Linked DNA regions of Homo sapiens: regions 1, 2, 3, 4, 5 and 6 are each linked to region 7. The links are contacts of gene promoters, found by promoter capture Hi-C in blood cells and fetal thymus (Javierre and others, 2016). All regions are on one chromosome and are shown on one strand. Each heading gives the region's core, a stretch centred on a gene start or on the middle of the fragment in contact. The rest is flanking DNA. Distances are from core to core; before and after follow the strand shown.

Region 1 (3,836 bases), core at 1,289-3,788, 670 kb after region 7:
TCTAGAATGTCTGATTCAGTGGGTTTGAGTGGGGCCGAAGAATTTGTTTTCAAAAAGGTTCCTAGGTGATATTGATGCTTCTGGTCCAGGAACCACACTTTGAAAAATACATACAAAACAGACTAAGAGCTCACTCAGGCTTGGCAACTCAGACATAAAAACCTTGTTTTCAAAATTGGGAGTGTGAAAGGAAGGGGAATATGTGGAAGCCCGTGGTTTTAGCCCCAGCTATGTCCCGGTCTGATAAACAACAAGAGAACCAGAAAGAGCAAGATAGGTCTACGCAGGTCACCGGGACAGATTTAAAAAACGTGGGTGGGGACAGAGTGACTGACACTGGAGATGTGATTGGTTTGGGAAAAGATGTCATGGGAGTTGAAGGTTATCCATGATCCCAGTTTTAGGGAGCAGGAAGAGGCAGGGGCAGGGGCATTAGGCAGGAACTGATCTTAACGTCCACAGGGACTCATAATCATCTCTCTGAACCAGGGGCGGTTGCCAAATGCAAACATGTGCCTGTTCTTTGTGTATACTTAAAGAGTAGTTCTATATCTAAATGCTGCTCCAAACTATAAGGTTTAATCCTATGAAATTACCAATATTTAACAGCTTCTGACTTACCAAAAAAAAAAAAAAAATGGCAACTTCACAAGATGCAACCTAATGCAATATGAACTGTAAAATAAATGTAATACAGAATATGGACTGAAAATAAATGCAAAATTCTTTATACTTAGCTCTACTCTTTTGTCAAATAAATTTTAAATGAGGAATCAACTTTTAGGTTTTCTATATTTAGATTTAAGTACTTTGAGGATTTTTCCATCACAGATTTTCCATCCTTGAAACCACTTGCACAGAACTGACTCTGATCTGCTGCCCCCTGCTGTCAGCTAGGGAAGCAACCTGATTTTTAACTGTTTGGGAGGCTAGAGCTAATCCCTTAAAAAAAAATCAGGGTTTCTAAACATGTCACTTAGGATTATCCCTTGGTTTAGGTAATCCTTGCCGGTACTTTTCTTCATTAGAAGATTATTGAGACTTGATGGAATAAGTCATTATCATGTGAGCCCTACTGGCCTGACATGTTTCCCTTTTTGGATATAACTTAACAGAGTTAGAAAAGAAGAATAGAATTACAGCTGGATTCTCAGTAACTCACACTAATGACAGGGACAGCTGTTTACAAATTTCAGTCATCAGACTAAGGAGAATGTATGGAAAGGTAATGGCATGGAGGGGCTTCAAGCCTGGATCTTGATGATTTTGCTGGAATGGGTTAGGATTTAATTGCCTTCAGCAAAAACTGGGGCTTGTGCTCCAGTAGTTTTGTTCTTTATGTGATAAAATGGAATGAGTATAAGCCAACTCTAGGTCTTTGCCCTCAATTTTTCTCTGTCACATCAAAAGGGACTGCTGGGTTTTTATAAGAATCACTGAGTTTTAGATCTAACACAGAACTGTGCTTCCGGTGGTAGGTGATGGTTGCTTGCAGGAAATGATGGAAAATGCTTAAAATTCAATCCAGAATCAGTTGGAGAGTTGAGATTGTAACTCAGATACACAACTGTTTAAATGCTGTCCACTGCCTACCCACCATTTGTTGTAAATGGTTTTTAAAGGCCCCTCGACACATTGTTTGAAGCTTAAGTGGGGAAGGAAGGGTGTGTGTCCCCGAGAGGCCCTAGCACTCTCTCAGTCCCCACCCTCAGCCATTTGTAAATGGCTCTTTGTCTCCTGGGACCTCCTCCAAAAGGGATGGGTACAGGTGTTCCCAGTTGGATCACAGGCTGAAAATGTTGAGAATGGCTATTCTGAATTATGGTTGTAATTTAATCTGGCAAATATTATTGAGCTTCTCTCTGTAATAAAGTAGGCTCTGGTGATGCAGGAGCATATAAGCCCACCCAAAGGCTCACAATCTGGCTTCCTGTAAGCGTGCAAACTGGTTTTACTCAACTATTACTGAAGTAAAGAGAATTGTTGGCAAATGTTAAACAATTATATGAAAGGAACAGGCAGATAGTCCCTGGACCCACTGATCAACCTTAACATAAATAAAAGTGGGGAAACAAGACCTGTGCATTCAAATGCATTGCCTAAATTGGGATGTGCTGGAAGCTTAACATACAGAGTGACTTGGAAAGATTTAGTCCCAGAAATATATACTTCATTAATAATATTTTATGATCACATATTGAAATGATAATTTTTGATATATTAGGTTAAATAATTACAATAGAAAAGAAAATTATTGGCTAAAACTTCCCCCATTTAAACAGCAAACTAGTGTGCTAGTGACATGAGCATTTGCTACAGTTTACACTATTTCTCATAAGATGAAAACCAAAATCTTTAACTTAGCTTGCAAGGTTACACAAACGATGGTGAAGGGCAGGTTTTGTTTGGTTTTGTTTTTTTAATGTCCAATTCCTTGCAGATTGATGATTTTATAAAGAAAATAACAATTAATTTTTCAAATAAATGAAATGGAAAAAGTCACACAAAATGCAAGCCCAATTTTATTATTAGTTTAACAAACATAAAATTACTTTGTGAAATGGCTACAAAAATTTCTACAATGTAGACTTCCAATTTTTATACTTGCCTCATCCCCAGTAAGGTAGCAAACAGTTCACAGTCCACATACCACTCTCTGAGTGACACAGGCTAGCCCCTGCCTACCTCTCCCTATCACTCTCTGCAGGCAGCCACACTGGCCTGTTTCCCTTCTTAGAACATGCCTCTCTCCTTACACTGGCAGGACTCCCAACCCCTCTGTGCCTAGTTAATCGTAACTATCTTTCAGATCTCAAGCCACAGCCTCTGTCTTTACCCTGAGAGCCTACACTTAGTCAGGGTCCCTGTCTGTGCTCCATTGTACCATGTGCCTCTCTTTATCACACGTTTCACCATTTGGAAGAACCCGAGTCCTTCACTAAGCTGTAAGCTTACAGTGATGGCATCAGTCTTGTTCACCAGCGATCCCAAATGCCTAGGACATACTACATGCTCAGTAAATACTTGTTTAATTAATAGATAATTAAAAATAATTTGAGCTCACAAAATTCAAACTTTCATTTTTTAACTGAGAAAACTAACTTCCAGAGAGTTTAAACAATTTGCTTAAAAATTCCAAGGACATATATATTCAAAACTGAGACCCGGATCTGCCTAAGTCCACACCATTACTTTTTTCCTAAACACACTAAAATGGGGCATTACCCAGAAATCATAAAAATTGTTTTGGATGGTGACCATTTCTATGAGTTGAAGCCATTTCCAAAATTACCCAGAAAGTTTACACGGTTAAACAATATTTTATTTTGTATCTACTCATTCATTTCACAGATATTTGTTGAACACCTACCATGTGACAGGCATTACTCTAAATGTTGTGAATGTGGCAGTTGTGGAGAAAGCCCAGGGTTTCCTGAACAGCCTCATTCTAGTTGGAGAGACAACAGCAAACATAGAAAAATACCCATAATTGGCAATAAGTCCTTTGCACAGAATTAGCACGAGATAAAGGGATGGAGGGACTTTGAACAGAATTAGCACAAGATAAAGCAAAGGAGGGCCTATTTTGGATGATGTAATCAGGAGGCCCATCTGAGGAGGTGATGCTTGAATTGACACCTGAATATGAAAAGAGGCCGAGGAGTTCTGGTGGAAGGCAGAAGGGACAGCAACTGCAAAGCTGTGAGGTTGGAACAAGCCTTAGTAAGTTCCAAGAACAGCAAGTGTGGCTGGGCAGGAGGAGGTTCTGACTCCAGGATGAATGAGAAAGTAGGATCCAATCTTGGCTGGCTGGTCCGAGGGCACTGATGTAATCG
Region 2 (3,746 bases), core at 251-2,750, 710 kb after region 7:
ACGTTAAAAGAAGAAAAGCGTTCTCAAAGCCCATCCCTCAATAACAAATTAATATGTATAAAAATCTAATTACCAACTCTATATTGAAATCTTAAACTCTAATGGACATCTGAGATTTACACATGTTTAAATGAGATTTATCCATCTTTAAATAGCATGCATATGAGTACTAAATGTGTCTCTTGGCTTCCAGTCTCCAAAAGACCACTAAGTGCTTCCATATTGCCCTTTCAGAAATAAAAGAAGTGCACTTTCTCCCCATAGTTACCATTACTCAGGTCCCCTGCCACCTTCCATCAGCTCTAAACTATGAGACTGCTGACACTGTGCCAGAGAAACAATGTAGCGAAGGTGAGTAGAGTAATATAAAATATTTTGATTTGGTAATACTCCAAAGCACTCCATTTGCTATTTTATGCCTCTTAAAATGCAACTTAACAAATAAGTTCTTAAAAAATCTAGAGATTGGCCAGGCACAGTGGCTCACACCTGTAATCTCAACACTTTAGGAGGTCGAGGTGGGAGAATTGCTTGAGCCCAGGAGTTCAAGACCAGCCTAGGCAAGATGGTGGGACCTTGTCTCTATAAAAATAAATTTAAAATTTTTAAAAATTAGCCGGCCATAGTGGTGCACACCTGTAGTCACAGCTATTTGGGATACTGAGATGCGAGGATAGCTTGAGCCCAGGAGTTCGAGGATGCGGTGAGTTATGATCATGCCACTGCACTCCAGCCTGGGTGACAGACATCCTGTGCCTATTTAAAAAACAAAAAACAAAACAAAACAAAAAAACCTAAAGATTATGAGGTGTGTCTTTTTCTTAAGCAAAAAACTAGATGATTATGCCTGTTTTATGAAAGGCAAATATAAAAGCTCCCCCACCCCCCCCAAAAAAAACAGTTAATTTAGGGATCAACCACCTGAGTATCAAAAGTGTGTTTTCTCCCTTAACCGTAGAAACATAACTCGGCAAGACGGGATTCAAAGAGGTGCAGAATGATTGAAAGTAAATAGTGGTTGCCACTGATAATTAGAGATCCACTAAAAAATCAAACTGAAAGATTGCTGAAATTAGAAAATGAGCTAATGGGAAAACACAATTGAATCTACCGAGATATATTTTACAAATAGATTTTATAAACGCATGTACTAGATACCTACACAGTTAATATAACAATATTTTCTACTCTCCCAAAATAATATTTGTTATGTAATACAAAAGCATTCCAAGGAAATGTAGAGGGTGTGTTTTTAGGTGACCTGAGCTTTTTAAGAGAGGGAGACGAGGCAGGCATTTATCCACCCACACTGATCCGTGTGTTTGCACTCCCCACATAAACACTGACTGAGCAGTGCTAACCAGAACATGTCATCTTTGAGTCTGAAGCCACTGGTCCAGGTCTCAGTAGGAGCTTTTGTCCAGGTGAGGAGTGGGATTGGCCCTTAGCAACTATGATTCAATACGTGTCATTTTCTATATATTGAAATTAGAGAATAATCATATTTCAGGAGGGGGGAGGAAAGGCTTGAGCTTTAAACATTGAAGTTGGCTGCATCAAAAATATGTTGACAGTGCTAAAAGGCTCATTCCCCACCTCTTGATATTTTTTCTTTCTTGCCCCCACCCCATTATTTATTTATGTATTTATTTATTTTTGGTAGGCTTGCTATTCTCATTTTGTTGCAAGGCTGCATTTTAATTCATCTGACTCTGCAGTTTAACAAAGCCCTTTGACACCTCTGTTCATTTGTTCTCAGCTGGTGAATGAGCAACAAGAAAGCAGACCCCTCCTGAGTCCCTCCATCGATGACTTTCTCTGTGAAACCAAATCGGAAGCAATAGCAAGGCCAGTAACATCCAATACAGCTGGTAATTCTCTCACTTTTAACTGTTCCTCAACTAGAGTTAATTTTAACTATAGTAAAATGCACATTTTTTCCATAATACATTTTAAGTGAGGAAAGAACGTTTGCAACCAAATGAAACTTTAGAATGTATACTATTTAGCATAAACCAATAAATCACAGAAATTGCAATGTATATTACCCAACCAATTTTGCAGAACATAAGTATACCACTATTAGCAATGAATCATGTTTTCATGTATATTTTCATATTTGCATATTTATATCTAAAGTCTCATCACATTAGAAAATCTTTAAAACAAAAACATCTCTTTCAGAGTAAGGTTTTCAAGTTCTGGCTGATGGTCCAATTATTTCTGGAAATATTTTGTATAACGGAAGTCCAGTAAATAAAAATGTGGCAACCTTTTCAAGTGGATTTAAATGACAAAATATCCTGCAGCTTTGGGATAGTATAGAGCCGGTTTCATTTTCTGTCATGTAAATGTGTTACTTGCTCCCCGTTACAACAATCTATTTGAATGTTCTCCTGGAATTAAACATTATCAAATAGTAAACCATCCCCTGCTCGGTGCCTGTCACATATAGGAATCGGCACTCAATAAGTATTAATCCAATGAGTGAGTACAGGATGCCACTGGCATAAATTACACTTCCCTTGTAGAGGCAGTCTTTCTGCATTGATTTCATTTGGTCAGCATTCACATTCAAAGTCATGTCATTCAAATAAGAATGAAAAAATGATGTTCAGAATCAAAGAACAAAGGTTATGTTGGATGTGCAGAGCGGAATTTAATGGAAAAAGAAAAGGATAATCACATACTGTCTTGTTAAATTTGTTCCATTTTGTCATCTTGGCCTCAGTTTGCTGTTGGCTTGCATATTTTCATTATATTTCTAAGTGAATAAAATCACAGGAGAAGGAAATCGTGATTTTTCCAAAATGCCAAAAATTACAAGAAGAGTAACTAGCATGAGATAGACAGGCTTGTTATGTGAGGTCATATTTTACAGTTTCTGGGTTCAAACTCCATGAATTCCAACCCCAGCTCTGTATCCAGGGGCATGTTGCTTAACTAAGCCTCAGTTTCTTCATTTGTCTGATAATAGTAAGATCTACATCTCGTAAGTTCATTGGAAAGATTAAAGGAAGCAATCCATGAAAAAGCTTAACACCATGTAAACTCTAACTGGTGTAAAAATTTCTGTTAGATTTTAGGTGAGAACAATATGTATTCCCTACACTTTCATTTTCAATTGCGTTGACTTTTTTATATCACACCACAGCAATCATTTTCTAAATTCAGCTCTCACTTTCAGTAATCAAGAAATTAAATGGTACTTGGCAAATTCTAGGTAGGAAATTAAACAAGTTCACATACTATCAGATGAGGTTCATTCCTCTGATCCGTGAAACAAGAGCTGGCCCCTTCAAAACTCGAGAACTACCCCAGGAAAATACAGATAACCTTGTATGTCCAATTGCAGGTGAATCAGTGAGAATTGTATGCACTGCAAACTTCCTCTTCATGCTCCAATTCTCACTGATGGGAAAACTAAGTCACTTAGAAAGGATCCACCCTGAGAGAGCAATATAAGATTTGATTCAAAAGCTTCTTTTCAGCTTGATTGTTCTAACATATGGAAGAGAGACCTGTGAAATACTGTAGGAAAAAAATCAAAAGAATGTGTAATTTCTTGCAATCCCAATATCTACAATGTTGCCCTCTGTATTAGTCCTAGGGCTGCTGTGACAAAGTACCACCCACTGAGTTGATTCAACAATGGAAACTTACCATCTCAGTTCTGAGGGCTAGAAGCCCAAAATCATGCTTTCAGGTGGGCCATGCACCCCATGAACGTGCTTAGTGAGGATCTA
Region 3 (3,526 bases), core at 812-3,311, 770 kb after region 7:
TCCTTAATTTGAGAAATATCTTTATTTGCTCTTATCCTACCATCCTCTACAAGTATCAAGCATCTATTATTTGTCAAGCTTGTACTGTTTTGCACACACATTTTCTATCTTACTTAATCTTCAAAATAATTCTAACAGTTATTAGTTAGACAACAGTCAAGATGCAAACCCAAGTCTTGCAGCAACAAGGATAGTGATGTTTTGTACATAACAATGTAAAATTTCCCAGGCCTAATAAAAGACATAGGTTTACAATCTAAACATTTTAATTCCTAGTCAAACTCACAGAACTTATCAGAAGCAAATGAATGTTTGGCTTTTAAAAAAGTGACTGTTGATATTTGTTTAAGAGAAGCTATAGTAAAGGTCACCATTACTTTTAATACTCTTGAAATTGAATGTTTGTGTTTTGAGGACATATCAGTATGTAGAGGCAGCCCAGTACAACCAAGTTAAATGCAACTTAAGGAAACTTTAATTTTTCTGAAATCTGAATCACATGATATCTCTGATTTTTACCTGTTTTTAATTTCCTTTTCTCAAATTGTTATTGGAATAAACAGACAAAACACAAGTGGAAAAAAACGTTATTAGTACTAGGTAATAAGAAGGAATGCCACTAAAAGGCCAGAAATTTTGAAGAATTTCAAAAACATTTTAAGATTATTCTTGAAAGAAAAGATACATAACGTCTTTATTGACAGTCTGTATCTAAAAATTTGATTTTTCAGCAAACACTGGAAGGCCAAGGTAGGTATTTGATGGATGGCTACATGCAAACATTTAAAACTTTTGGGGGAATGCAACACAGCAGGAAGACTACTCTATGGCCATCAGGAGGATAATACTGAGAGTTTGGATGCACTCCTTAGCCAGGGTTCTCACGAACTAAATCAACTAAAATCTAATAGATCCAACAGTGAGCCAGATGAGGAGTCTACCTGTTTTAACCAAGCAGCCTGTTTATTAATTTTTACAACTGAGTTTTGACAATACCCAACGTATTTATCCGTGTGCAACAAGAAATGCCAGCAACTGCACAGATTTCTCCATGTTCAGCTAGTAGGTAGCAATTCCACTATTTAGCATCCCATGACTGGGTTAAATCAGAACAGATAGTGCGAACAAGTTAGTCTAAAAGTCTAACTCTATAAAAGGGACCACTTGTACCAATTGAGCAAACAGTTATGTAAGGGATGTTGCTAAAGTTAGCCACCGGGTGGACTAAAGGATCTCTTAGGCTGCATAAAGATCTGGGTATGGCATGATGACATAATGGATCCAATGCTTCATCAAGTTATTCACAGAAGCTACTGATTGTGAAGTTACAGCATTATCCTGCCAAGTGAAAGAGGTAGGCATAAGTGAAGAAAAATTAAGAGAGTTAAGAGTCTCATCATGATGAGGAGTCTTGTTCCAATGTCTTGGGAAAAGCTGTTCACAGTAGGAAGTCAACAACTTCTCATTCTGATTTGCAGTTTGAAGGTCTCAGTTACGGCATCAGGTACTTTGGTAAACTCAGTGTGGCCTACATATAAGGAATGAGACTTGTTCCCTGAAATTTCTATTGAATTGTTCACTTTCAGCTTATAGGTTTTCAGGAACAGAGCAATTCTTTTTCTTAGTTGAAAATTTATAGCCAGATATTGAAAGAAACTAGAATTTAGGATCCAGTCCAGTCTACAGGTAGATAACAAAAACTCAAAAGAAATGAATAGGAATACAATCTAACAACAATGTATTATAGTTTTTCTTCTAAAATATAATTTTTCTCTCTATAGTCACCCCCATTTCTGTCAAAGATAATCAAAGTAAGACTAATTTTTTGCAAAATAGTCTCATCAAACTTGGCCTGATTATTTACATAACTGCAGCATGAATAGTGATTGACCACATAGGCTCTTTTTAAGTCTGCTTTGCTGGCATTTTTGATAAGGTATCTCAGATTAGACTTTTCAAAATCTCTCAAGGCTAAGAAGCCCAAACCAAGGTAGACTTCAGACTTTAGTCTAAAATATACCACCTGAATAATCCCATGACTACTGTCAAAAGACAAAACCACAACAAATTTGGTTAAATGATCTAATTGGTTTTTATTTGTGATTCATGAATAAGCATAGCGTCTACCTAATTCTAAAAATTTAGAAAAGGTTATCTGATGAGCTGTGCAGAAGAAGTTGACTTTATAAGCAAAAAAGAGGCTAAAGAAAACAGAAACAGGGACCCAAAAGAGGCCTGTTTGGGGATCTGTCTCTTCTCTCTCTCCTGATTTCTCAAAAGGTCAAATAAATCACTTAGTTTTGGTGGCCTGTAACTTCAGCATGAGTGACTCCATTTTGATTTGGTCTCTTGGGCCTAGTATAGGAGCTCAGTGCAAATCAATGGCCTCTTTATTGATATGTAAATATATCCATAATAAAGGATTATAAAATTATGTGCACAGTAAAGTTCTACTTTCACAAAATAAGTATACATCTAATGTTTGTTGAGCACTTATGTTCCAGCCACTCTGCCAAATATTTTATAAGTGTTATAAAATGTGCTCCTCCTGACTATCCTGTGAAGTAGGCATTTTAACTCCTTTTTATAGATGAGAAAACTAGAGCTCACAGAAGGAAATAACTGGCCCTTGGATTCAGAGTTGACGAGCAACGGTTTTTACATGTAAATGTAAGGGGAAAACCTAAAATAAGATATACTGAAGTGCTCTCAGTGATTACATCTAGACAGTAAAATTAGGAAGGTTATTTTTTCTTTTTGTTCATGTATTTGTCTAATTTGCCTACAATGAACTTGGTTTGCCTACATTATTTTCTAAAAATTTTCTGAAGTATTTGATCAAAAAATACCAATACAGATACCTAAATGAAATAAAAATCATTGTTTTCTCATATTTTGAGTGAATTTTAGGAAGTCTCTAAAATACTCTCCTAACACCCACTTAAATCTAATTTTGAAGATTTCAGTGATCCCTAATTTAAATCTGCTTTAATCCCATTCCGGGCCATCTGGACAGTTAATGGGCTCTTTGGAGTTCCCCATATGAAAATAGAGCATGTTTATCGTTTATTTTCCTTAAATATTTAGTTAAAATGTGGGACTACAATTATCCCTGAAAACAATCTTTTAATTATTCAAAAGTCATGACAGCATAACTTTAGATGCAACTATGACCTTCAATTCACATTTCTCTTGAGTCAGCAATGTTCTTCAGATTCTAAATATACTTTTAAAAAATAAATCACAAGCTCTGCCTCCCAGAGAAAAAAGACAAAGCCACTATTGCTGTTTTGTCCTCTCAGAACTTAGGATTGTTTTGTGCTGTGCTAGTTAGCAGCAACCATTACCGACTGATATATTGTCTCACATCTCTGTGAACATTCAAATGATATAAGAAAAGTGTTTTTATTTAAAAAAAAAAAGCAACAACAATAACATCACCTAACCCTGGTATAACTCTTCACAACTTACAGAAATATTTTCCAAACATTTGGATGTGAGGAAAGGTTATTTGATTTGGCTGAGA
Region 4 (3,370 bases), core at 219-2,718, 780 kb after region 7:
ACAACAGAGTGAGACCCTGTCTCTACCAAAAAAAAAAAAGAAAGAACTGTAGTTCTACAGTTCTACAGGAGACTATAGGGGACTACGCCTGTAGTCCCCAGCTACTCAGGAGGCTGAGGTGGGAGGATCACTTCAACCCCAGGAGGTCAAGGCTGCAGTGAGCTGTGATGGTGTCAGTACACAGCCTGGACAACAGAATGAGACCCTGTCTTAAAAAAAAAAAAAAGAAAAGAAAAGAAAATGTGGTACATATATACAATGGAGTACCATTCAGCCATAAAAAAGAATGGCATCCTGTCATTTATAACAACATGGATGGAATTGGAGGTCATTATGTTAAGTAAAATAAGCCAGGCACAGAAAGACAGACTTCATATGTTCTCACTTGTTTGTGGGAGCTAAATTTAAAACAAATGAACTCATGTGAATGGAGGGTAGAATGATGGTTACCAGAGGCTGGGAAGGGTAATGGGCAGGGGAGGGGGGTAGGGAACTGGGGATGGTTAATGGGTACAAAAACATAGTTACATAGAATGAACAAAATCTAGTATTTTATAGCATATTGGGTGACTACACTCAACAATAATTTATTGTACCTTTTAAAATAACTAAAACAGTATAATTGGATTCTTTATAACACAAAAAAAGGATACATGCTTGAGGTGATGATATCCCATTTACCCTGATGTGACTGTTACACACATCACATACGTGTATGCCTGTATGCCTGTATCAAAATATCTCATGTACCCCATAAATACATATACCTATTAGGTACCCACAAAAATTAAAAATTAATTAATTAATTAAAAGAATAAAAGAAAAACTATATATAGATAAGTATATATTATTATTTTGTGGCGGAGGAAGTCTCAGTAATATTCAGTTCTGGATAGCATTCATGATATTTTGCTAATGCAACAAATATTTATTGAGTATCTACTCTTACACTAAGTACTGGGGATGTGATGACGAATAGTCTCCGATTTTAGTAGATCTGCAATCTACATAGTCATTAAAATGTCTCTCTCCTCCAAATACTCTGTCCCTCAATGGGCCAGGCAATCTCATAAAATTAGAACAACCATCTCATTAAAAGTAACTGTCTTTTCCACAAGGAAATCATAGCTAAGTGAGAACACAGGACATTGATTCAGATCATCAGACTCTGGGCTGTAACTCGTGCCCCCGAGGTCTGCCTGAGCTCCATAGCCCCTTACTCCCAGAACCCCATACCCACACTAACCCCACATAAGCCAGTCACACCCTGTGGCTTTTGATGGGGCATTTTGTCCTTCTAAGCACCTATGGAGACTGAAGGCCTCCACTTGATCTACTCTTAAACCTTAGTAACATCATCAACACACTAGCTTATTTGTATCTATCAAATTTAAAAGATTTTATGACAATCTATGCAAGTAAAATTGCAACAAATAACATCTCTCAGATACTTCAGATGAGAGTTTAAATTGGACAAATTTTTCTCAAAAACAATTTAGCTACACATTTCAAGGGCTTAAAAATAGCTCATAACCTTTAACCTAATAAATCCCTCTGGGAGTCTATCCTAAGGTAATAAGTACATGCAGCAAAGATTTGTGCATAAGGCTTTCACCGTAGTTTTATTTATGATAACAAAAACTTTAAAATAACCTGAATGTTCATCAATAGGGGATTGAGTAAATAAATATAGCCTATCCATGGGAATAATTTTAATAACATAGAGAAATCACAATATAAAACTAAGCGAGGCCTAAGCTACAAGACTGCCTATGTAATATGTGCCTACTTGTTTAATTTATATGCTCATAGAAAATACCAGTTATTTATACATCCTGTATTCTTTAAATTTTTACAATTAAAAAAAAATCTTTAACTTTAAAACATGCATGCTCAACAGGGGCAATATAGCCCCCAACAGGCAAAAACTGGTTCAGGGTGAAGGCAAAAAAATTCTTAGCTATGACAATGGTTTGTAGTTCTCCAAAGGGCCCTAGTAGGTAAACAGATATACAGTATGTGGGATTCATATTTCGGGGTATGGGTGGTAGCACTTAGCAAAAACATGTCTAAAGAATCAGTATTTTTAAAATCTTGAGGGGAAACTGTTGAAACAAAAAGAACAAAAAATATCAGAAGAAAGCAAACTCAAAAATATTAGTGGTCGTATCTCGGTTGTGGCATTACAGGTAACTTTTTGTATCTTTTTATATTATTTAGTATTATCTAAACTTTATACAATGAAAATGTACTATATTCATAATAAGGAAAAGCAGAAATTTAAATTTAAAATAAATAATAATTAATCAAAATAAATAAATTTAATTTAAAATTGTTTATTATGCTTTAAGTTCTGAGATACCTGTGCAGAACATGCAAGTTTGTTACATAGGTATACACGTGCCATGGTGGTTTGCTGCAGCCATCAACCCATCATCTACATTAAGTATTTCTCCTGTTGCTATCCCTCCCCTAGCCCCCGACCCCTCAACAGGCCCCAGTGTGTGATGTTCCCCTCCCTGTGTCCACGTGTTCTCATTGTTCAACTCCCACTTATGAGTGAGAACATGCGGTGTTTGGTTTTCTGTTCCTATGTTAGTTTGCTGAGAATGATGGTTTCCAGCTTCATCCATGTCCCTGAAAAGGACATGAACTCATCCTTTTTATGGCTGTATAGTATTCCATGGTGTATATGTGCCACATTTTCTTTATCCAGTCTATCATTGATGGGCATTTGGTTTGGTTCCAAGTCTTTGCTATTGTGAATAGTGCTGCAGTAAACATATGTGTGCATTTGTCTTTATAGTAGAATGATCCTTTGGGTATATACTCAGTAATGGGATTGCTGGGCCAAATGATATTTCTGGTTCTAGATCCTTGAGGAATCACCACACTGTCTTCCACAATGGCTGAACTAATTTACACTCCCACCAACAGTGTAAAAGTGTTCCTGTTTCTCCACATTCTCTCCAGCATCTGTTGTTTCCTGACTTTTTAATGAGAACTTATTGAATGTGAGAATGAGAAGAGAAATCAATGGCTCATGCACTGGCCTTTTTCTGTGTTGCAGGGATATTACTTTCACACTGAAAACCCCTTCAAGGACTGGCCTGGAGCATTTGAAGAAGGCTTAAAAAGGCTGAAGGAAGGGGATCTGCCAGTCACCATCCTGTTCATGGAAGCAGCAATTCTTCAGGACCCTGGAGATGCAGAGGTGTCATTCTCCCTTCATTCTGCCAGACTCAGAAAGGGCATGTGCTAACAAGGGACAGATAACACAGAACTCTGCTGGGTCAGCTTTTCATCAAGTAAAGGTTCCCAGAGGAGTTAACCTAGCTTAGTCTACTTGTTTAAAAGTTACAAATAAGTA
Region 5 (3,837 bases), core at 1,204-3,703, 810 kb after region 7:
GCAAGACTTGAATACAGTTGTAGCTAGTCCCACTTTTATAATAAAAGCTTCCAAACTCTTTATCATAAACTTTGTCTGTGAGCTTGGGAATACAGAGAAAGCAAGTTGATCATTCTGAGACCCTTCCTCATTTGCCCTGAATCAGTTCCCCAAGATTGGACTGTACTTTAAGCTAGTTGTTGTAGCAGTGGTGGTTGTTGTTTTATATCTTGAGATACTTCTAGAACATTCTAGAAACAGGGTATTCTAAAGGCTTACTTTATATGCCATCCTTTTTGAACCCTCTTATTTTAGAAATTATTACACGTGCACACTTATGATTTCAACCTTGTAAAATAATTTCAAATTCATTTCGTATCCACATTTTACTGCAGTTTCCCTATCATCATCTCAATAGTTATAGAACTGGTTGAAATTAAACTGTTTTGAACTAAGAAGTAGATATATATATATATATATATATATATTTTTTTTTTTTTTTTTAAAGAGTGTTCATAGATAAACTCTGGCATAAAGTTTGTAAAAAAGCAATTTTTTAAAAGCAAAACGTATAACCTCAGGTACAAAAATATTGCATGCATTAGTATTGCAAATTTGCCTACTCAAATATTAACCAAAGCATGCAAGATAACTTGACTGAATTTAAATTTACACAGTGCATGATTAAGTCTCATAGGTTAGCCTGTTGTTCCTTGCCTCTATACAAGGGAGCATTTTTATGAACTTTGTGTTACAGTTTTTCTATTTGCTTTTCTTATCCTATCCTTGAGATTGTTTTCATGCTATCACACTGAACTTTACAGATATTCACACATCTGGTTTCTACAGTGTTACCAGTGCCAAACTAATCCTCTGAAGAATCTGGGACATCTAAACACTTTTTCAAAAACCAGTTGAGGCACAACAGATCCCAAACTTAAACAAATCCAAGTGTCTGAATGCTACTAAACTAAATCATGTTGACTGCCTCAGCACATAAAGGTTTCGACTTTAAATTCTTAATAATGCATTTCAAAATTTTTCTAAAAGTTTGGGAATAAATTAGAAAAACTGATATTCTAAATAAGGCGAGGAGGTTGGGGTAATGTCAGGCACATCAAAATCATCACACAACGAAGTAGATATGGGGCCTTAATTTTCATAAATGTCACATAGCAAGTGTGTGGGGTATCACAACATTGTTCTGATACAGCCCTGTTTGTATGGTAGTTGAGCTGCTTGGGCTAAATGTCCCTTGAGAAACTGGACTTGATCAACAGGTCTAAAAACACTGATATTTAGGGAGTGATGAGGTGATTTCACGGTCACTCAGAACCAACTCTGAAATCTTCTCACTGCCTTTTCCCATAACCCCTATTTTATGAGGAGACCAGAAAGGGAGAGAGCAAAGCTCAGTGAGACCATGTGGTCTTACATTAGTAACAGCTTTGTTACTCACTCCATATACCCCGGTACCCTCACACACATACCATGAACTCAAAGACAGAATTCTACACATAACACACATAGCAAAGACGATTGTGGGGAGGCATTAAACAGTTAAGAGGAAAAAAAAAAACACAGAAAATTAAACTGTGAGGTTTAACAACCTCTCATGTGGTATTTTGCCTTGAACGAAGTTTCCACTACCTGCAGCTTCTGCAGAAATACCAAAATAACACAGTCTAGAGACAAGTGTCCCAATGTCAGAACTGTTTTCTCAGGACCTTCTCTATAAGAGAAAACTAACTTGCAATGCTGCAGAATGTCAGAGCAAAACCCTGATGAGCTCCGTGGGATACTTAATAGAAGCCTGCACTCAAAATAATATTAAGATGGAAACAACAACAACAATTAGGCAGTTCTTTGCTCAACTATAAAATGTGTATCATTCATTGGGGGAGGGGGAGGGGTCGTGTTCTTTGGATTTCTTGGAAAGGGAAATGGTATAACACAAAAAGACTAAGAGGTATACACACTCAGCTCGGTAATTCGAGCATTTGGCATTTTCACTGAGATATATAGCATTTCTGCATGGATACCATACAAGAATTCTGCCATGTGAGAAATGTGTTCATGATGGACTACATTACCAGTAGTTAAGGGAAATACAGCAAACTTAAGTTTTTACCAACTTCCTTTCATGTTCCCTATATATCATCTAACCCAAACTTTCAATTTACATTGCCCAAATTTGTTTACATTGGTTGAAAAAAAACTGATTAATTTATTAAACTTTTTACAAACTGTAACAAACATTTAACTATTTAGAAAAGACATTTCTACATATTTTATATATCTATGAATATTGCATCTCTAATCTAATCTAAAAATGTTGTTTTGAGACAATTCTTCTGTGATGCTTCCTCCTCATGCTCATAAATGTTTAAAGTCTTGGGATTTCATTTTCAGGCTGAAATAGATAACAAGAAAAAAATTTAAGTTTAAATGTTTACATTGCGTTACTAAATTAATACCAATTCAAATTAAGTGACCTATAGTAAATTAATGGCAATGGGGGGGAGGGGATTTTAAAGTGATTGGCATATTATGTGATACTGTATCAGTGATTTAGTGAAATAATATGTATCATAGCACAACTCTGTTGGGTATTAAGGCTTCATCTTAGTATTTCCCTGCGTTGCTCTTTGAAATAAAATTACTACCATAAAAATAACCTCTTATCATATTGATGTGTTTAATTTACTCAGTTGGCTTCTAATTTGCGTAACAAGATTAAGGTAGTATTTTTGTACTATTATTGGAAGCATGCCTTCCCTTTTTCACATTATTAAATTGTATTTATATTTGTGCAATTTTAAACTATGTTTTCAAATAAACTTTGTCTGCGGCTTCGAGGTCTTTTCAGGAATCTTTCAAAATGGGATTTGGGGATCAGAACTCCTTCTGATCAAATGGAATCCAATTTGTACTACTGGCTAAAGGTCCTTTTATTAAATATTGAATATCACTACATATGATTTTGCATGAGCTATCTGGAAATCAGGAATGCATTTTTGGATATAAAACAAAACTTTAAAAATCTTCCTCCTTTGTTAATTTTTTAAGACTAAAATATTATTTAACCTGAAATTGAATTTTGTGATTCTTTTTAGAATAAAAATATTAAAATAAATTTCAGTTTTAGGGTCTTTTGGTTTTCTGGTCAGTCAATAAATATTTAGATACAAATTATGTGCTGACACCATTCTGGGCGTAGGACACAGTAGTAAGTGAATGAAATCAAACTTGCCCTTGAAGAACTTAGATTTCTGTGAAAGGATGCCTACAAATACTTTAACAAATAAGAATGCCATGTGCTACAACGTACTAGAACAAGGCAAATAAGTTATTATGAGAATGAGTGGAGGGGCTCCTTTATCTGTAGGTGGTCAGATAAGTTTTCTCTTACATGACATTTGGACTGAGATTTGCTGACAGGTAGAGTTGGCACAACGCTACTGGCAGAGCCAATAGCTTGTGCAAGATCCCAAGGCAGCAATGAGCTTAGTGTGCATTCAGGAAGAAGGGGGGCTGGGGTGGTGAGGGCTGTGAGCTGCACGACCTTAGTAGACAGCCTGGCAGGTGGAAGATCATGGGAGGCCTTCCCAGAGCAGATTCAAGGGCAAATTTGCTCCACGCAAAGATGACGGTGTTCAGACTGAGGTTTCTGTTCTTCCAAACCATTTTCAAAATAAAGTCCTTGAGTCAGGTTGGCAGGGGAGGGAACTGCAGGCTAAGCGAAGAGAGCTATACAGCAAGAGACTGGAGCATCCCTTTCTCACTTGTCACTGTTCCATCTGTCAATCTGAGGCAGCCCCTGACCTTCATAAAATTCCATTTTTTCCCCTATAAAAT
Region 6 (3,767 bases), core at 770-3,269, 750 kb after region 7:
CTTCAAGTTACTTCAAGTAGTTATTCATTCAGCAAACCATACTGGCTGTTTACGTGTACTGGCTGCTGATCTAGGTTCTAAAGATAAAGAAATGATCCAGCATTACTTAGCAGTCTAACAATAGCATGGTCCACAGGACCAATTTGGACAAACCACTTGTTCATTCTACTTTAGTTTCATATCACCTGTAAGTTGAGGGGCTTGGATTCCCAATATACTAAAACCCTGTAAGTTTATGTCTTCAAGTAAAAAGAATGGTAAGTACAGAATTCCCAGCAAATCAGAAAACTATAAGCAGAGTTGCTTAACCAGAAGCCTGGTACTGGGAAGCCTCCCTAAGGAATGAAGGGAAATGGTGCCCACCAGAAGGTGTGAACAGGTGTGGAGAAAAAAGTGTGTGAATGCGTGGGGAAGGAGGAGATAAAGTATTTACATTAAGCTGATGGTAAATCATGCCTCCAAAACTTCACACATATTTACTTCCAGACATTATTCTTACCCAGGGTATTATCTAAATTCATAGCGGAAGACATAATAATATGCCTCAGAAGAGTCTTGGAAATATTTATGCTCATCGACCCAGCCACTTCATAGAATTTATCCTAGAGACGTAACTTGAAAGTTGCAATATTTTATCTGTAGAATTTCATTGAATAGTGAAAATTTGGAAAAAGCCGAAGTATCCCATAACAGAGTTTAACTAAAATTATATCATATCCTTATAGCAAAATACTATGTAACTATTAAAAATGTCTAGCAATAATTGAAATAGTAGTTTATATATGGAAAGTTTTACAGTATAATCCCAACTTTGTAAAATGATAACAGCATAATAGGTAACATGTTAAAGAATGTACTATGTGTGAGGTACTAAATCAGGAAAATTACATGGCTTATGTCCTTTAATCATCACAGCAGTGCTATGAAGAAAGTAAGATTACTATTCCATTTTTCAGAAGAGAAAACTGAGGCTTAAAGACCTTGCAGACAGTTATGTGGCATTTTATAAGCCATTAAGATAGACTGAAAGTCAACTAGCAAGTTGAAAAACAAGTTTAGCAAGTTGCAAAGCAACGATTCTCACCCAGACTCCAGAGTTTGTATTCTGAACCACTGCATTGTATGAACATAGAGTTTGTCTTAGTCCATTTGAGCTGCTATAACAAAATAACCTGAGATATGGTCATTTATAAGTAGTAGAAATGTATTGCTCACAGTTCTGGAGGCTGAAAAGCTCAAGATCAAGTTGCCAACAGATTTGGTGTCTGCTGAGGGCCCATTCCTCATAGATGGCACCTTCTTGCTGGGTCCTCACATGGCAGAAGGGCAAAAAAGGCTAACAAATTCCCTCAGGCCTCTTGTGTAAGGGCACTAATCCCATTCATGACAGCCCCGCCCTCGTGACCTAATCACCTCCCAAAGGCCCTACCTCTTAATATATCACCTTTGGAGTTAGGTTTCAACATACGAATTTGAGGGAACACATTCAGACCATAGCAGATTCTGTGCCCAAATGTTAGCAATAGTTATTCTTGGGTGGCTGGATTTGGAATGGATTTTTGCTTCTCCTGTTGGCTTATTTGTATTTTCCAAATGTTCTTTCATAAAGATGTATTATGTTGATAATCAAGGGGAAAGTTGTAAGTCATGGACACTACAGTGGGATATAAGATTCTTAAAAGGACTAAAAGTGTCTTATTCTTTATTTCAAGACAAAGAATGGTGATGCAGATTGCTTTCATCAGAGGCAATTTTAAATACTAGTAAGCTCCAGATGAAAATCATGCCTGGAGCAAGTTGAATTTTTCCAAAATCTCTGCCTTATGTTTTTATATCATCTGATTCCAACGTTCTTCCTATTTTACATTCTATTCCATTTTTTGTTATCATCCTGCCTCATGATCGGCACCTGGCCACCTCTCCACTCTTTCTTCTTCTTCTCAGTCCCCTTACTGAGCTCCAGGTGTTTTGGCTTCTGCCTTTCTCTCTGTTCCTCTCCCACACCCAAGTTTACTGCCCACTGTCCCCACCTTCTCTTCTGTCTATATGGAACACTCTTTCCTCCGATCTTCAGGTGGCAGGTTCCTTCTTGACATTCAAATTTTAGCTGCATTGCCAATACCTCAGAAAAGCTGAACCTGATCACTCAATTGCCATTGCATCACCTAGGCCTTTGTTTTTCATCCTAGTATTTATCACTGGGTCCTTTCTTGTTTGTTTTTATTTATTTATCTGTCTATAATCTGTCTTTCTACTTTAAAAATGTAGCCTCCATGAGAAAAGGGGCCTAGTCTCTTATTTACCACTGTACCCTAATATCTAGAACAATGTCTGGTGCCTACGAATAATCAATAAATATTTGTTGACTGAATGGATGGATGAATGAAATTCATTCATTAATTAATGTTAATCACTCTGTATGGGTAACGCTTTTTTTCATCTATCTATTGTTGTATATAAAGTGCCATATAACCTTCCAACATAACTGTATCTCCATTTTAATAGTTGACATTAAACAATTCTGCCTGAAGCATACAGATTTCTGCCTGGGACTGGGCTGCAGTGTCCTCTGTAATTGTCTTGGTCTTGATGTCAGTCAGAGAGACACATTTATAAGAATGCAGGCTCCAACCAATCTTGCCAGTAACATTGGGCATATTTTGTATTTTAGATGGTATGAACCCATTTTTACTTATATTAATACCTGGAAATGTGCAAATCGACTAAGTTTTTGGCTGAAGTGCCCTAAAATACATTATCCACTGTTGGAGAAAAGACAACTAAAACCACATGAACATGTATTGTTTGTAGTAAATGACCTGGGAACCTGTTTATGTGCAAAGACTGTCATTCCTCAAGCTCACGTTGAACTCTTAGCTCTAGCTAAGCCTTATATGGGTGAGGATCTTTTCCTCCATATCTTAACATTGTATTGAAACATCAAGTCTGGCGTGGTGCCTCATGCCTGTAATCCTAGTCCTCTGGGAGGTGAGGTTTCACCATATTGCCAAGGCTGGTCTCAAACTCCTGGGCAGGCAGATTGCCTGAGCCCAGGAGTTTGAGACCAGCCTGGGCAACAAGGTGAAACCTCATCTCTACAAAAAGACAGAAAAATTAGCCAGTCATGGTGGCACGTACTTGTCATCCCAGATACTCAGGAGGCTGAGGTGGGAGGATCGCTTGAGCCCAGGATGTAGAGGCTACAGTGAACCCTGATCATGCTACTGCACTCCAGCCTGAATGACAGAAGGAGACCCTACCTCCAAAAAGAAGAAGAAGAATAAGAAGAAGAAGAGGAAGAGGAAGAGGAAGAAGAAGAAGAAGAAGAGGAGGAAGAAGAGAAAAGAAAAATTGTCTCTACCTAAAGTATTGTAATTTTAGGACAAAGAGATAGATACTCCCATTCTGGGCTTAAAAAATAAAATGCATCTTCCCTGAACAAAAGAGAGAGGAGCTTCCTCTATGCTTCCCCCTGGATTTTCCTTATAGCCAGCAGCCTAAATGCACTGTCCACTAGGTCCCTAGGAAGGATGCACAGGGAGGCACAGGAGTGACAAACTGCGAAGGAGCTCCCAGAGCTCAGTGAGGCCCAAAGCTGCCTCCCAGGAGTGGAGATTTCTACAGAGAATTATGCTTCATCTGCAGAGGAGAGAGAAGGTCATGTAAGAAGTCAGCACACTGCAACCACAAGCCAAAAATACCTCCTTCATCAACGTTAGCAGGAAGGGAAAGAGAGCCAGCCAGCATCTGGTATTGTGTTTAGCTAG
Region 7 (3,561 bases), core at 737-3,236:
TTGGTATGAAACAGCTAGTAGTTGAACAACCTAAAGTAAAAATTTAAATAAGGATTTAGTTAAAAGTAATTTCCGTGTCCAAACACAGTAAAATATGTTTGCTGGTTCAGTTAAAAAACTAAAATCTCATGAAACTTTCCATTAGTTTAGGAACCAAATATGATGGCTTATGACAGTATACAACATGCATCAAAAACAAACTAAAATTTGTCTAAAAGGTATAAGGATTCCAGTGAAAATGAAATGCCAATTCTCCAAAGTATTTTGTCTGTTATCCAATCTGTAATACCTTCTGCTTTTCTTCCTTTTTATCTGCCTGGATAGATGGCAAATACCCAATCTTTTATCGTGACACATTAGTTTAAATTCAGGACTATCCATCTTGGGCAAAGTATCTTAATATAATGTACAAACCACTTACATTTAATTATTGTAAATATATAAATGAAACTTCTCTCCAAATTATCCACATGAAAATATACAATGCCAAATATTAACTAATTAAGAATACATATGTTCAACTACAAGAAATAAGTCTGAATATCAATCAACCTCACCACGTCCACTGATACCTCTTTGAGCATTTAGAAAAGAACACTGTGCCTGCCAACCAGTTTAAATTTAAAAAATCCCAAAAACCAGAAATGGAGGGAGAAACTGGGTAACTTACACTAATTTTTTTAAACTATTTTTCTCCAATTAACATTTAATTTCCAAAAGCATCTTGGCAGGTATACTTGAGCACAACTGCATGCAAAGATATAGTTCTTGCATTGAGATGCGTTAACAAAAACAGAAGCAATCCAAGTAACAAAAATAACTTACTGTGATTTCTAAGTGGGCTATATCTCTCATGATACCACTTCCTAAACAGATCAACACCATGAAAAAACCGAATTCCCGAATAGAACTAATTCTTCCAATCACTATATCACCACGCTCAATATCTCGGAAAAACAGCTCTCTCCGATCCATACTAGGTATCTCCATGAATTGCTCTAAAGGTGGCATGATTGCATAATGATCTAAAAAAAAAAAATTAACAAAATCACTAACGATAGTTTTGAGTTCCGTTTCACCTGAAGTACTGTTAAACCGAACCGCAATCTTAAAGATTTTAAGGCTAAACTGACCTTCACTGTCTTCATTAATTTCAGAAGTTGCAGGTGCATCTGATTTCCAGGAAAGTGCAAAAAGCAGATCCGCTTTTTTGGAGATGAATTTCTGTATCTCGATGTTGTCAACTCTCTTCTCTTTTCTTAAAAAGAAAAAAATATATATGAAAATTGGGTTATCTGCAAAGCCTCTTTACTTCTAACCTTCTGCTTATGGCTTTCATCGCCCATTCCGCTCCATCCTAAGCTGCAGACAATACAACCTCAGACAAAAAGTTTTAACTAGGCATTCCCTCATTAACCAACCTGGAGGTGGAGAGCGGGGAAACTTAAAAAGTGACGCCTCCAACTCAGATAGGAAAGCTCAAGGGATTTTTAGCTAAGGAATCTGCGCCTCTACCAAGCAGTGCCAGAGAAAAAGTTCAGCCCGCATCCCGCATTGCACAACCCAGGAGCGCCCCCCGTCCACCCAGCCCAAGACACCAGCGCGCGATCGTCCTGTGCTCACGGCCGCGGCTCCACTTCCTCTAGACGCAAACCCGGGGCTGCGGTAGTGGCTGCCAGAGCTGCGTCCCCTCTTCCGTGGCGCAGTGGCACCAACGTCTCATTACCTGCCCTGCAACGGGTGCTGGGGCGGCGGGCCCCGGGCTGGCTCGGCGGCCGACCCCAGGAGGCTACGGAAGTGTGGATTGTCCTGCTGTTCGCTCCGAAGTAGAGAGAGCAAAGACGACCCGTGGCAATTTAGCGACTGCCGCAAAAGGTCCCGGTCCATGGCTAGAGAATGCAGGGCCCGGAGGCCGACGGGCTGATAGTTCCCTGTTCCGTGTCCGCTACTTGAGCCGGGTGGTACAGGAAGCGGAAGAAACTGTCTGGAGGCTGCCGGAAGTACACAGACAGCACAACCAGTTACACCCGGAAGTGTTCTGGGGTCGCCCCCACGGCGGCGCGGCGGAGCTCAGCCTCGATCTCGCGAAACCGAGCGAGACTACGGAAGGCCGAAGGATTGGGCTCAGCATTGCTTGGGCTAAAGGCTGACTAGGGCTTCCAGGAAGTGATGTATGTGAGAAGTTTGCTTTTTAAAGTGTACGTGGGATCGTTATTACGTCGAAATAGCTCGAGCTGTAACCTAGGGTAAATAATAATTCCTTTTCGTATTCATCAAGGTGCTTCTAAGTGCCAGTGCCAGGGTAAGAACCCTATACGAGTCTCCAAGCTTCTTCCCTCGACGTACTCTCTGCGTAAATCAATACCTGTGTCTCTGGCGTAACCCCATTCAACCGGCTGCTCCGGGAAGGTTTCCAGGTGGTTTTAAGGGCAGAAGAAAGGAAGGACACGGACATTTGTTAAGCACCTGGAGTGGTGTTCTCCATCCATACCCCATTTACTGTTAGTGATTGTGAATTCTAAAACCAGGATGGCTTTAATGTCTCCACACGTGCATATGCCATTCAAGTTTTACAATAACTAATGAACACATGCATTTCTTATTTAGTTTATCTCAATGGTTGCTCAAAATTTAGTGTCTGTGGGACTTACTGTATAGTGGTATGTACGCAAAAGTCAATATACTGTTCTTATGGACAATTCAAGTGATTTTCAAAGGGAATTTCAACTTAGGTCCCCCATCCCCTTACTTACTGACTTGAGAACCTAACCACTATGGTAGCTATTGTACTTTTTCATTTTAGAAAACGAGGAAACATGCTCAGAGAGTCCCAGTAAATTGCTCAATGGCACACAGCTAGTAAGAGGCTAGAGTTAGGATTCCAAACGAAGTATTAATTGGTCTTCTCAGGCAGAGTTGCTGGATTGAGTATTTTATCATATGGAAGGTCTAACTAACCCTAATTTTGAGATCATGTAGCTTCGTTTTATTCCAGTATAAAATTTGTACCATTTAAATATGTTCAGTGTAAATAGTTCAGTATAGTCCTCTTGAACAGAAATAAACGGTGACAGTTAGTCTCTCCACTTCCCACCATGTGTCTTTGAGGAAATCAACTTGCCTTTCACTGTGTTACCACTTTTGTATAGGAGATCTAGCCCAGAACATAATCGATACTGCCACACTGTTTTGTGGAAAACCCAGGCAAATAGGTAAACAGTTTGAGACTTGAGAAAATGCAACAAACAAGAATGCAACTGTAAAAGATAAATTTGGGTTAGGCACGGTGGCTCACACCTGTAATCCCAGTACTTTGGGAGGCCGAGGGTGGATCACTTGAGGTCAGGAGTTCAGAGACCAGCTTGGCCACCATGGCCTAACCCCGTCTCTACTAAAAATACAAAAATTAGCCGAGCGTGGTGGCTCATGCCTGTAGTCCCAGCTACTCGGGAGGCTGAGGCACGAGAATCTCTTGAACTCCGGAGGCGGGGGTTGTAATGAACTGAGATCGCGCCACGGCAGTCCAGCTTGGGCGCCGGAGGGAGACTCCGTCTCAATAAA

Evidence for each region. Contacts are between HindIII fragments. The CHiCAGO score rates a contact against its expected background, and 5 or more counts as called.
Region 1: a contact is called between a fragment that was not itself captured here and the fragment with the promoter of TTC14 in region 7, in 5 of 17 cell types (endothelial precursors, M2 macrophages, M1 macrophages and 2 more). The highest score is 21.4, in endothelial precursors.
Region 2: a contact is called between a fragment that was not itself captured here and the fragment with the promoter of TTC14 in region 7, in 1 of 17 cell types (endothelial precursors). The highest score is 5.0, in endothelial precursors.
Region 3: a contact is called between a fragment that was not itself captured here and the fragment with the promoter of TTC14 in region 7, in 2 of 17 cell types (M2 macrophages and endothelial precursors). The highest score is 5.6, in M2 macrophages.
Region 4: a contact is called between a fragment that was not itself captured here and the fragment with the promoter of TTC14 in region 7, in 3 of 17 cell types (endothelial precursors, M2 macrophages and M0 macrophages). The highest score is 6.6, in endothelial precursors.
Region 5: a fragment that was not itself captured here is called in contact with the fragment with the promoter of TTC14 in region 7 in 3 of 17 cell types (M2 macrophages, endothelial precursors and M1 macrophages); the score reaches 7.9 in M2 macrophages.
Region 6: a contact is called between a fragment that was not itself captured here and the fragment with the promoter of TTC14 in region 7, in 3 of 17 cell types (M1 macrophages, M2 macrophages and M0 macrophages). The highest score is 10.0, in M1 macrophages.

Annotation. Positions count from the first base shown.
Region 1 is chr3:179,926,292-179,930,127 of GRCh38, reverse strand. The region is part of intron 2 of PEX5L (peroxisomal biogenesis factor 5 like); the gene reads left to right. Among named protein-coding and RNA genes, the nearest start is that of PEX5L-AS2, 30 kb to the right of the region's middle. The HindIII fragment of the contact is 829 bases long and covers 2,124-2,952 here.
Region 2 is chr3:179,885,798-179,889,543 of GRCh38, reverse strand. PEX5L (peroxisomal biogenesis factor 5 like) reads left to right here. Exons shown (of 15, transcript NM_016559.3): 4 at 1,760-1,871. Among named protein-coding and RNA genes, the nearest start is that of PEX5L-AS2, 11 kb to the left of the region's middle. The HindIII fragment of the contact is 3,074 bases long and covers 1-3,037 here.
Region 3 is chr3:179,835,259-179,838,784 of GRCh38, reverse strand. All of the region lies in intron 8 of PEX5L (peroxisomal biogenesis factor 5 like), which reads left to right. Among named protein-coding and RNA genes, the nearest start is that of PEX5L-AS2, 61 kb to the left of the region's middle. The HindIII fragment of the contact is 3,962 bases long and covers 81-3,526 here.
Region 4 is chr3:179,815,705-179,819,074 of GRCh38, reverse strand. PEX5L (peroxisomal biogenesis factor 5 like) reads left to right here. Exons shown (of 15, transcript NM_016559.3): 10 at 3,071-3,214. Among named protein-coding and RNA genes, the nearest start is that of PEX5L-AS2, 81 kb to the left of the region's middle. The HindIII fragment of the contact is 5,838 bases long and covers 1-3,370 here.
Region 5 is chr3:179,794,236-179,798,072 of GRCh38, reverse strand. PEX5L (peroxisomal biogenesis factor 5 like) reads left to right here. Exons shown (of 15, transcript NM_016559.3): 15 at 1-3,115. It overlaps LOC124909464 (a long non-coding RNA gene), which reads right to left. Exons shown (of 2, transcript XR_007096183.1): 2 at 2,177-2,392. Among named protein-coding and RNA genes, the nearest start is that of PEX5L-AS2, 100 kb to the left of the region's middle. The HindIII fragment of the contact is 4,807 bases long and covers 50-3,837 here.
Region 6 is chr3:179,853,326-179,857,092 of GRCh38, reverse strand. All of the region lies in intron 8 of PEX5L (peroxisomal biogenesis factor 5 like), which reads left to right. Among named protein-coding and RNA genes, the nearest start is that of PEX5L-AS2, 43 kb to the left of the region's middle. The HindIII fragment of the contact is 6,436 bases long and covers 1-3,767 here.
Region 7 is chr3:180,600,588-180,604,148 of GRCh38, reverse strand. It overlaps TTC14 (tetratricopeptide repeat domain 14), which reads right to left and starts at 1,986. Exons shown (of 12, transcript NM_133462.4): 1 at 1,727-1,986; 2 at 1,134-1,258; 3 at 826-1,025. The coding sequence starts at 1,887. TTC14-DT (TTC14 divergent transcript) reads left to right here and starts at 2,036. Exons shown (of 3, transcript NR_183700.1): 1 at 2,036-2,246. RefSeq lists an enhancer at 1,906-2,195. The HindIII fragment of the contact is 2,365 bases long and covers 1-2,330 here.